Linked DNA regions of Homo sapiens: all the other regions are linked to region 3. Evidence: promoter capture Hi-C in human tissues and cell types (Jung and others, 2019). All regions are on one chromosome and are shown on one strand. Each heading gives the region's core, a stretch centred on a gene start or on the middle of the fragment in contact. The rest is flanking DNA. Distances are from core to core; before and after follow the strand shown. Region 1 overlaps SFXN5 (sideroflexin 5). Region 2 overlaps SFXN5 (sideroflexin 5). Region 3 holds the start of SPR (sepiapterin reductase).

The links. Contacts are between HindIII fragments. The study calls those that stand out against the background at their distance.
Region 1: a fragment that was not itself captured here is called in contact with the fragment with the promoter of SPR in region 3 in 10 of the 25 tissues and cell types used here (IMR-90 fibroblasts, bladder, heart left ventricle and 7 more).
Region 2: a fragment that was not itself captured here is called in contact with the fragment with the promoter of SPR in region 3 in 7 of the 25 tissues and cell types used here (heart left ventricle, heart right ventricle, liver and 4 more).

Annotation. Positions count from the first base shown.
Region 1 is chr2:73,013,795-73,016,494 of GRCh38, forward strand. All of the region lies in intron 6 of SFXN5 (sideroflexin 5), which reads right to left. LOC107985897 (a long non-coding RNA gene) reads right to left here. Exons shown (of 2, transcript XR_001739535.2): 1 at 1-2,700. Among named protein-coding and RNA genes, the nearest start is that of SFXN5, 57 kb to the right of the region's middle. The HindIII fragment of the contact is 6,383 bases long and covers 1-2,700 here.
Region 2 is chr2:72,952,066-72,954,765 of GRCh38, forward strand. All of the region lies in intron 13 of SFXN5 (sideroflexin 5), which reads right to left. Among named protein-coding and RNA genes, the nearest start is that of EMX1, 36 kb to the left of the region's middle. RefSeq lists enhancers at 1-28, 29-530 and a silencer at 1,924-2,093. The HindIII fragment of the contact is 8,875 bases long and covers 1-2,700 here.
Region 3 is chr2:72,886,037-72,888,736 of GRCh38, forward strand. It overlaps SPR (sepiapterin reductase), which reads left to right and starts at 1,372. Exons shown (of 3, transcript NM_003124.5): 1 at 1,372-1,700; 2 at 2,278-2,568. The coding sequence starts at 1,397. RefSeq lists silencers at 1,224-1,613, 2,252-2,426. The HindIII fragment of the contact is 16,003 bases long and covers 532-2,700 here.

The DNA of each region.
Region 1 (2,700 bases), core at 86-2,585, 130 kb after region 3:
TGTTTTTAAAAGATGAAACACTATAAATACAAATGAAGCACCCCCTGTTCTCCTGCTAAATTTCATTGCTTTCTCTCCCCAGAGGTAAACAGTATCACGAAGCCGGTGCTTATTGTTCCCATGGATGTTTTTAAGGATGCATTAAAAATGTACTCATAAACTATATATAATATTGCTTTGCATATTTTTTAACATTATATAAATGACAGAGAGCATTACTACTCTGCTACTATTTTTTCATTCAACATTGTTTTTGAGATTTATCCATATTCATAAATGTCGCCCTTGCTCATTGTTTTCTTTCCTGTGTTAAGTATTCCACTGCGTGACTAAGCCATGACTGATTCATTTTCTTGTTGATGGAATTTCAGCGGTTTCCAATTTTTTGCTATCATAAACATTGCTGCAAATATTTTCTTTTCATATTTAAATGTCCTTTTGCATATAAGGTGATGTAGAGATCTGACTTTCTTTCTTTTCCACATAGGTAGCCAGCTGTCCCAGCACCATATAATACTATTAGATGGTTTGTCCTTTTTCTCCACTGATTTGTAATGCCACCTTAGTCAAATCTTAAATTTCCATATGGGCATGTCTCCAGGTTCTCTGTTCTGTTCCACTGACATATTTGCTTATCACTGTACCAAAACCAAGTTGTCTTATAATATTTGGTAGGGTGAGTCCTCTCCCACCACCTTATTCTTGAAAATTGTCTTCACTATTCTTATCCCCTAGCTTGTATTCATGTAACTTTTCATAGCAACCTGTCAAGTTCCATAACAAATCCTGATGAGATTATGACTGAAATTACATTGAATATAGATTTTAATTTGAAGAAAACAAAATGATACAGCTCTCCACTTATTTAGATCTCCAATGTCCTTCAATAAAGTTGTATATGTTTCTCTATTAAGGTCTTGAATATTGTTTCTTGAATTTATTTTTATATCCCTTATTGTCTAAAATACTATTGTAAATGACATCTTTTATAAAAATCATATTCTAGATGTTTGTTTTAGGTTTATAGGCATACAAAATTTTTTTGTATACTTGTCTTACATCCAGAAATCTTTTAAAATAGTTCCAATAGTTTGTCTATTCTCATAAATGTTTTTCTTTCTTTCTTTCCAACTCTAATACCATTGTTTATTTTTTCATGTCTTACTGCACTTGCTAGTCTTCCAGGAAAATGTTAGATAGAAGCAACATTATCAGTCATTCTTACCCTGTCCAACACATTAAGAATTTACCTTTGTTTCATCTTTAAGACAGGTGCTTGCTATGGTTGGTTTAAATCATTTTTTATAGACACTATCAAGTTAAGAAAGTTCCTTCTAGACCTAATCTGTTGTTTTTATCATAATAATTACCGTAAATTGAGTTATGTTTTATTTTATCAAATACTTTTTCTGTATTTACTGGGGAAATCATGTTTCTCCTTCAGTTTCTCAGTGTGATCAACTAATATTAATACATTCTCTAATGTTATCATATTTGGTAAAAAGCATTTCGTTATGATGTACTTTGATGCATTGCTGGAATCAGATTGCTATTATTTTATTTCATAATTTTTACATGTAATTTCATAAGTGATATTGGCTTATACTTTTTCTTTCTTATACTTACTTTGGTATTGGTCTCAAAGTGCCTCATAAATGAACTGGGAAGATTTCCTTTTTTTCCTCTCTCTTTTTTGTTTTTTTTCAATAGAGACAAGGTCTTGCTATGTTGCCCAGGCTGGTCTCAAACTCCTGGGCTCAAGCGATTCCCCTGCCTTGGCCTCTCAAAGTGCTGGGATAAGAGGCATGAACCACTATGCCTGGCACTTTTTTTGCTTTTGAAAGCTTTATAAAATTAAGTTCAGCTCTTCCTTTGGGAACAGTCACCTGGAAGATCAGAGCCCAGTGATAATTTTGGGTTTGTTTGTTCTTTGGTGCAAATATTTTAAACTGCAAATTAAATTTCCTTTTATTTATAGGTCTATTCAGATTTTAAGGCCAGGTGTGATGGCTCATGCCTGTAATCCCAACACTTTGGGAGGCTGAGGCAGGAGGGATCACTTGATCCCAGGAATTTGAGGCTGCAGTGGGCCATGATCGCATCACTGCACTCCAGCCTGGGAGACAGAGTGATACCTTGTCTCCAAAAAAGAAAAAAAAAAAAAAGACTCTATATTTCGTCTTTCTAGGCAGTTTTGGTAAGCTGTATTTTCCCAGAAATGTATTCATTTCTTCTAAGTCTTTAAATGTATTGCCTTGAGTTGTTCAATGCATTCTGATCTTTTATTCTGCTACTGCATCTATAATTATTGTACTTCTTATTGCTAATGCTGTTTATTTGTATCTTCTCTCTTTTGTCTTGATCAATCTTTCTAGAAATGTCTATTTAATTAGTCCTTCTATAGAACCTAGGAATTTACCCTGAAGATATATTCCAACAATATCACAAGATTACCATTTTGGCATTATTCATGATGGCAAAGTATTACAAATAATCTAATGTAAGAAATTATCTAAATAAATCATGGTACTTCCACTTAGTAGAATACTATATAGCTGTAAAAAAGTAATAATGAGGAAGATCTCTATAAATCGATATACAGTGATTTTCAAGATATATCAAGTGGAAGAGCTGGGGCAGTGGCTCACACCTGTAATCCCAACACTTTGGGAGGCTGAGGCGAGTGGATCACTTGAGGCC
Region 2 (2,700 bases), core at 142-2,641, 66 kb after region 3:
GCCTAGACCCCTGGACCCCTGAGTTAGGCCTCTGGTGCTGGCTCTGGGCTCCCACTACCTTCTCAGTGAAAGAACCCTCAGCTGGACACTCCAGGCCTTCTGGGACTTTTTCCAGCTTCTTCACCCATCAACTGCTGTCCATTTTCTGTACATTCTAAGTATACGCTTTGAGTCCTAAGTCCAGGCTATATCCTGACCCTCTAAGGCTGCCTCCTCCAGGAAGCCTCCCTTGATATTCTTAGACCAAATCCATTGCTGCTGCCTCTGTGTCCCCAGCACATGCTTTTATCTCCATCCCATCCCCAGGCACAGGCTCATTTGCACTCTAAACAGGGGTGACTACAGTAGTCCCCTGCCCCACCCCACTGTGAGCCGCTCCAGGCAGCTCGGTATCCCTATGCCTTGTGCACAGTAGGTCCTCAGTAACAGCTGAGTTAAGTGACACTGAAGTGCCTCGTGGGCAAGAATCCTGTCTTACACTTTTCCGGCTCCCCTGTGCTATGTGTTCCCAGCAAGTGCTCAGACCACACCCCGCCCCCTACCATTTTGGAGCTTTGCACCATTCCTGGGTGCCCTCTGGTGGACCAATCTCAGAATCATTCTCTGTCCTCTGTCTTCTAAGCTTTGAGGCCTCAGTTTCCCCACATGTATGATGGGAAGATTTTCTAAGATCTCCTGGTGCCACGAGGATTATATCACAAAATGGATAGGATGGCCCTTTGGAGGCTTAGAAAACCTGCGTGATGCTGTGTAAAGAGGACAGCACCCAGGGTCCCCACACTCAGCCCCAGCCCCACTCACTAAGCTCACAGGGCTGAGCCTTGCTGCAGGCCAGGCATGTTCCACTTTGCATGTATTAATGCCTTTAATGGAAGCTCTGCACAACCAAGCCTTCTCCCTCCCTATCCTGGATTCAGCTAGGTGTCCTGGAAGGTCCTGGAAAAAAGAACTGTGGGGGAAAGGCTGTCAGGCAGCCCCGCCGAGGCCTGCCACCCGGGCATGTGTACATGTTCTTGCGTGCACGTGTATGTGTGCGAGCCTGTGTGCACGCGCAGGTTTGGGGTGGGGGTGTGGGGAACAGGCAAAATGACAGGTGGCGTTGGCGTTCCTGGGCTCTGAGCGGCTTTGCCATTCCCATCCATCCCTCCTGGGGGGTCCTGTGGGCAAACTCCAAGAAAGCAGCGGGCGGGGAGGCAGCAGATTTCTGACGGCAAAAATAGCCCACTTTAGAGTTCAGTAGGGACTGATTAAACCAGTAAATGAGAAAAACCCCAAACAAACATCTCCAAGCAAAGTAGGAGATGGATTTGAGACTGGAGGGAAGGAGGCCCCTGCTCTGGGAGACGCTGAATGCTGCTGTAGACTCAGGAGGGATGCAATGTGCCCTAGACATTGTCTCTGGCCTCGCATCAACCCTGGAAGAGTGGGAGAAGCAGGGACCAACAAAGTCAAGGTGAACCCAGATGAGCCACGCTCTGTACTAGGTGTTGATAAAGGGCACCAGTTCTCTGCCACAGGGACACCTTGTGTCATGGAAGGGAGAAAGGTCTACTGTCCTAAGGGGGAAGATGGAACACAGAAAACACACCACCAGAGCCTACACAGGTGAGGTGAGACAGATCTTAGTGGGGAAGATCAGGGAGGACTTCCTGGAGGAGGAGCCATTTCTAGACCAGCTTGAATGTGGACTCACATTCCAGCTTATTCCCAGCTCTTCTCCATTCTTGGTTGGGGGTCCCAATACTTTCTCAAAGAAAGATAAGCTGGGGGGACTTTGCTTCTGGTGGCTCACAGCTGTTTAGCCAGGCTGGTTCATCAAAACCACCATTTTCATCAGGGCTGGTAAGAGGGTAGAGATAGTGGAGGTTCTGGTACCCACTGAGGGTACCCACATTTTTGCCCATACAGGGAGGGTATGCCTCTCTGTTTCTTAACCCTGAAAGCTGTAAGTGGGGAGGCAGGAAGGAGTATGGGGTGGCTGAGGTTGGCCTTCCTGCCTCGTCTACCACATGGGTGTGGCCTGTAAGAGCCACCCTCTGAGGCCAGGACGAGACAAGGCTCATAACGGGCTGAGGACATCGGGGGAAGGCTTTAGACTTCCTCAGAACATGGCTTCTAATCCCCAGAACCCTCTAGAGCTGAGGTGAGTAGGGGCTCAGCTGAGAGGGAGGGACATGGGGAGTTCCCAGGGCTGACATGGGAGGCTCAGGGCAGGAAGCCCTGGCCCTGGGAGACTCTTAGGCTGTCTTTTCTTCTAGTTGAGGTGCTTGGCAAAAGCTAGAAGGGGCAGGAACAGGTGGTGGGGGTACCGGGGGAGGTCAGTTCTCTGCTGAGGCTTCAGGGAAGGCAGACGGCAGATGCCAACAAACCAACAAGACAGCCAGGAGGGAACAGGCCCACAGGAAACAAGCCTCCTGGCCAGTGAACCTCACTCCTGCCCCCAGGGGCCCCTGCAACAGCTGAGGCAGGGAAGAGACACACGCTCATAGCCGCCAGCCCCTACAAGGGCGCCCCAGGGCCCTCTCCCCTGCCCGCAGCCCCAGCCAGGAAGCACACTACCCAATCTCTCATCCCCACCCCAGCCCCCACAGCTGCAGGGAGGACAAAGGAGCCAGTGAGGGTCTAGGGGCCATAAGACACGTTCCCAGGAAGGCTAAGGCCCTGCCCACTTGCCGTGCCCAGACATGGCTCCCAGAGGGT
Region 3 (2,700 bases), core at 122-2,621:
ATAGTAAGCTGTTGGGCCAATGAGATCTTTATCTTCAGTGTGAATAGGTAAGTGAAAAGCAGGGCAACTTCAAATGGTATACACATATACAGAGTCTTATCAGCGTTAAAATACCAAAAGCTTAAAAAACAATTAGCCAGGCGTGGTGGTGCGCACCTGTAATCCTAGCTACTCAGGAGCCTGAGGTGGAAGGATTGCTTGAGCCCAAGAATTCAAGGCTGCAGTAAACTGTGATCACACCTCTGCACTTCAGTTTGGGCCACAGAGCGAGACTCTGTCAAAAAAAAGAAAAAAGAAAAGAAAAAAGCCTTCCTCCAAGTTGTTTCTTCCTTAGAGTTGGCAATAATAGTGGAAAGGCGGTAACTTTGCTGTTTAGCCCCAGGGGAGGGATCAGCCCTGTGGGGAATTGGGCTAAGTTATCAGAGGTTACTTACTGCCCTTGCTAAACTCTAAAGAGATTCGTTTTTTAAAAACTGACACACAATATTTGGACATATGTATATACACAATGGAATACCACTCGGCCACTAAGAAGGAAACCATGAAGAGATTCCTTTTTAATATATGTAGCTGCATGCCAACTTGTCTCACGTTCCTCCTCTCCTAGAAAAAAAAAAATGTGGATTTTTCTGAAGCACCTGCCTGGAGGTACAGACAGATGATTGCGCAAACTTGAAGCTGAAAGTGGATGGAATTGCTGCCAGGGAGACTGTAGCATGAGCAGGAGCAGAATCCTGGGGAACACACTTTTAGGGACAGGAGTCAGAAATCTCAGAGAAGCAGGGGTTACTGGTGGGATCACGGAGCTGCTCAGGGCCTAGTAAAAGGGAAAGGTTTTAATATCATTTGGAGCCACTGTGGTTCTCCCAGAGGAAGCTCCTGTCATCCAGAGAGCGGTGAGCTCCCAAACAAGCAGAGACTTCAATTCCTAAACAGGCATAAGCTTCATTCAGGGTGTTCACTGGCCACGACCAGGGACGCCCAGCACCCAGTGCAGGGCCTGCCCTGGAAGAGGTCAGTAGTGCAAAGTTAGGGCTGGAACTGGGAGGAAATTCGAGCATGCGTCCCAGCCGGAGGCTGAGCTTGCGGGCGAAGAACACGGCAGCGCTGGGAACCGGGCTAGGGCTTTCCGTGTGGGCCGCGCCTGCCGGCCCTCTCTGTTGTCCCACTTGGCACGGACTGGGCTACCGCCACGGTTTGACTTCCGCCACCAGCAACCAAGGGAACCAGATCCCAAGGGAACCAGCACCCCTGGGCGCTCGCGGCCCGAAGCCTGAGGTTCCCGCCCCGCCCCGGCAGGGCGGCCCCGCCGACACCCGTAGCGGTCCCGCCCCCCGCGGCCGCACCGCCTCCTGCCTGGTCTCGGGTGCCAGCGCCGCCGGCGGAGAACAGGAGCATGGAGGGCGGGCTGGGGCGTGCTGTGTGCTTGCTGACCGGGGCCTCCCGCGGCTTCGGCCGGACGCTGGCCCCGCTCCTGGCCTCGCTGCTGTCGCCCGGCTCCGTGCTTGTCCTTAGCGCCCGCAACGACGAGGCACTGCGCCAGCTGGAGGCCGAGCTGGGCGCCGAGCGGTCTGGCCTGCGCGTGGTGCGGGTGCCCGCCGACCTGGGCGCCGAGGCCGGCTTGCAGCAGCTGCTCGGCGCCCTGCGCGAGCTCCCCCGGCCCAAGGGGCTGCAGCGACTGCTGCTTATCAACAACGCGGGTAAGACCCCGGGGCTGGAGCGGACTCCCCATGTGAGCGCCCACTTCCTCCACCGCTGGGGAATTTAAGGGCTACTCCTAGGGGTCAGATAGGACGCCTAGAAATCTAAAGCCCTAGTTGTTCCAGCTTGAGTAGCAAGTGGAGGCGAGGTGTACAGGAAGACTCGGTGCCGTCGGGACAACAGTCTGCCCCCACTTCCTGGAAAATTGGCCAGCCGGGTTTTCCAAAGCGCCTGTAGAACTTTCCCGAGCCCCTTGCTCTGCGCCCTCTGGCGGAGGCCTGAGTCAGGGCTTGGAGTCTCCAAACAAGTAAACTCTCTGCTTCTCCAAAGGACCGCTAGAGCTTTCCTTCAGCCCCACGGCAAGGCAGGTGCCTTCTCATTCTGCAGCTTGGGATGGCTAGGTTCCCCAGCTGTGTCTTTCCGCAGAGCTGGGGAAGAGAGAAGCCTCTTCAGAAGCGCTAGGCAGCTTCCTCCTCTAGGTCTGCATGGGAAGAGGATATCTGGAGGAACTTGGGAGGGCTGGGGAAGAAGAAAGCCCCGCCTGCACTGAGTTACTCCTAAGGGTTGGTTTTTCAGGCTCTCTTGGGGATGTGTCCAAAGGCTTCGTGGACCTGAGTGACTCCACTCAAGTGAACAACTACTGGGCACTGAACTTGACCTCCATGCTCTGCCTGACTTCCAGCGTCCTGAAGGCCTTCCCGGACAGTCCTGGCCTCAACAGAACCGTGGTTAACATCTCGTCCCTCTGTGCCCTGCAACCTTTCAAAGGCTGGGCGCTGTACTGTGCAGGAAAGGCTGCTCGTGATATGCTGTTCCAGGTCCTGGCGCTGGAGGAACCTAATGTGAGGGTGCTGAACTATGCCCCAGGTAGGTGGGAAGTCCTGCCGTCCCTGTCCTCCAGAACCCACTGGTGCGCCTCTGGGGGCTGGGCAAGCGGCCTAGTCCGCCCCCTCCAGGAAACAACCCACAGGATTTTGTCCTTGAATCTTGACCCATCAC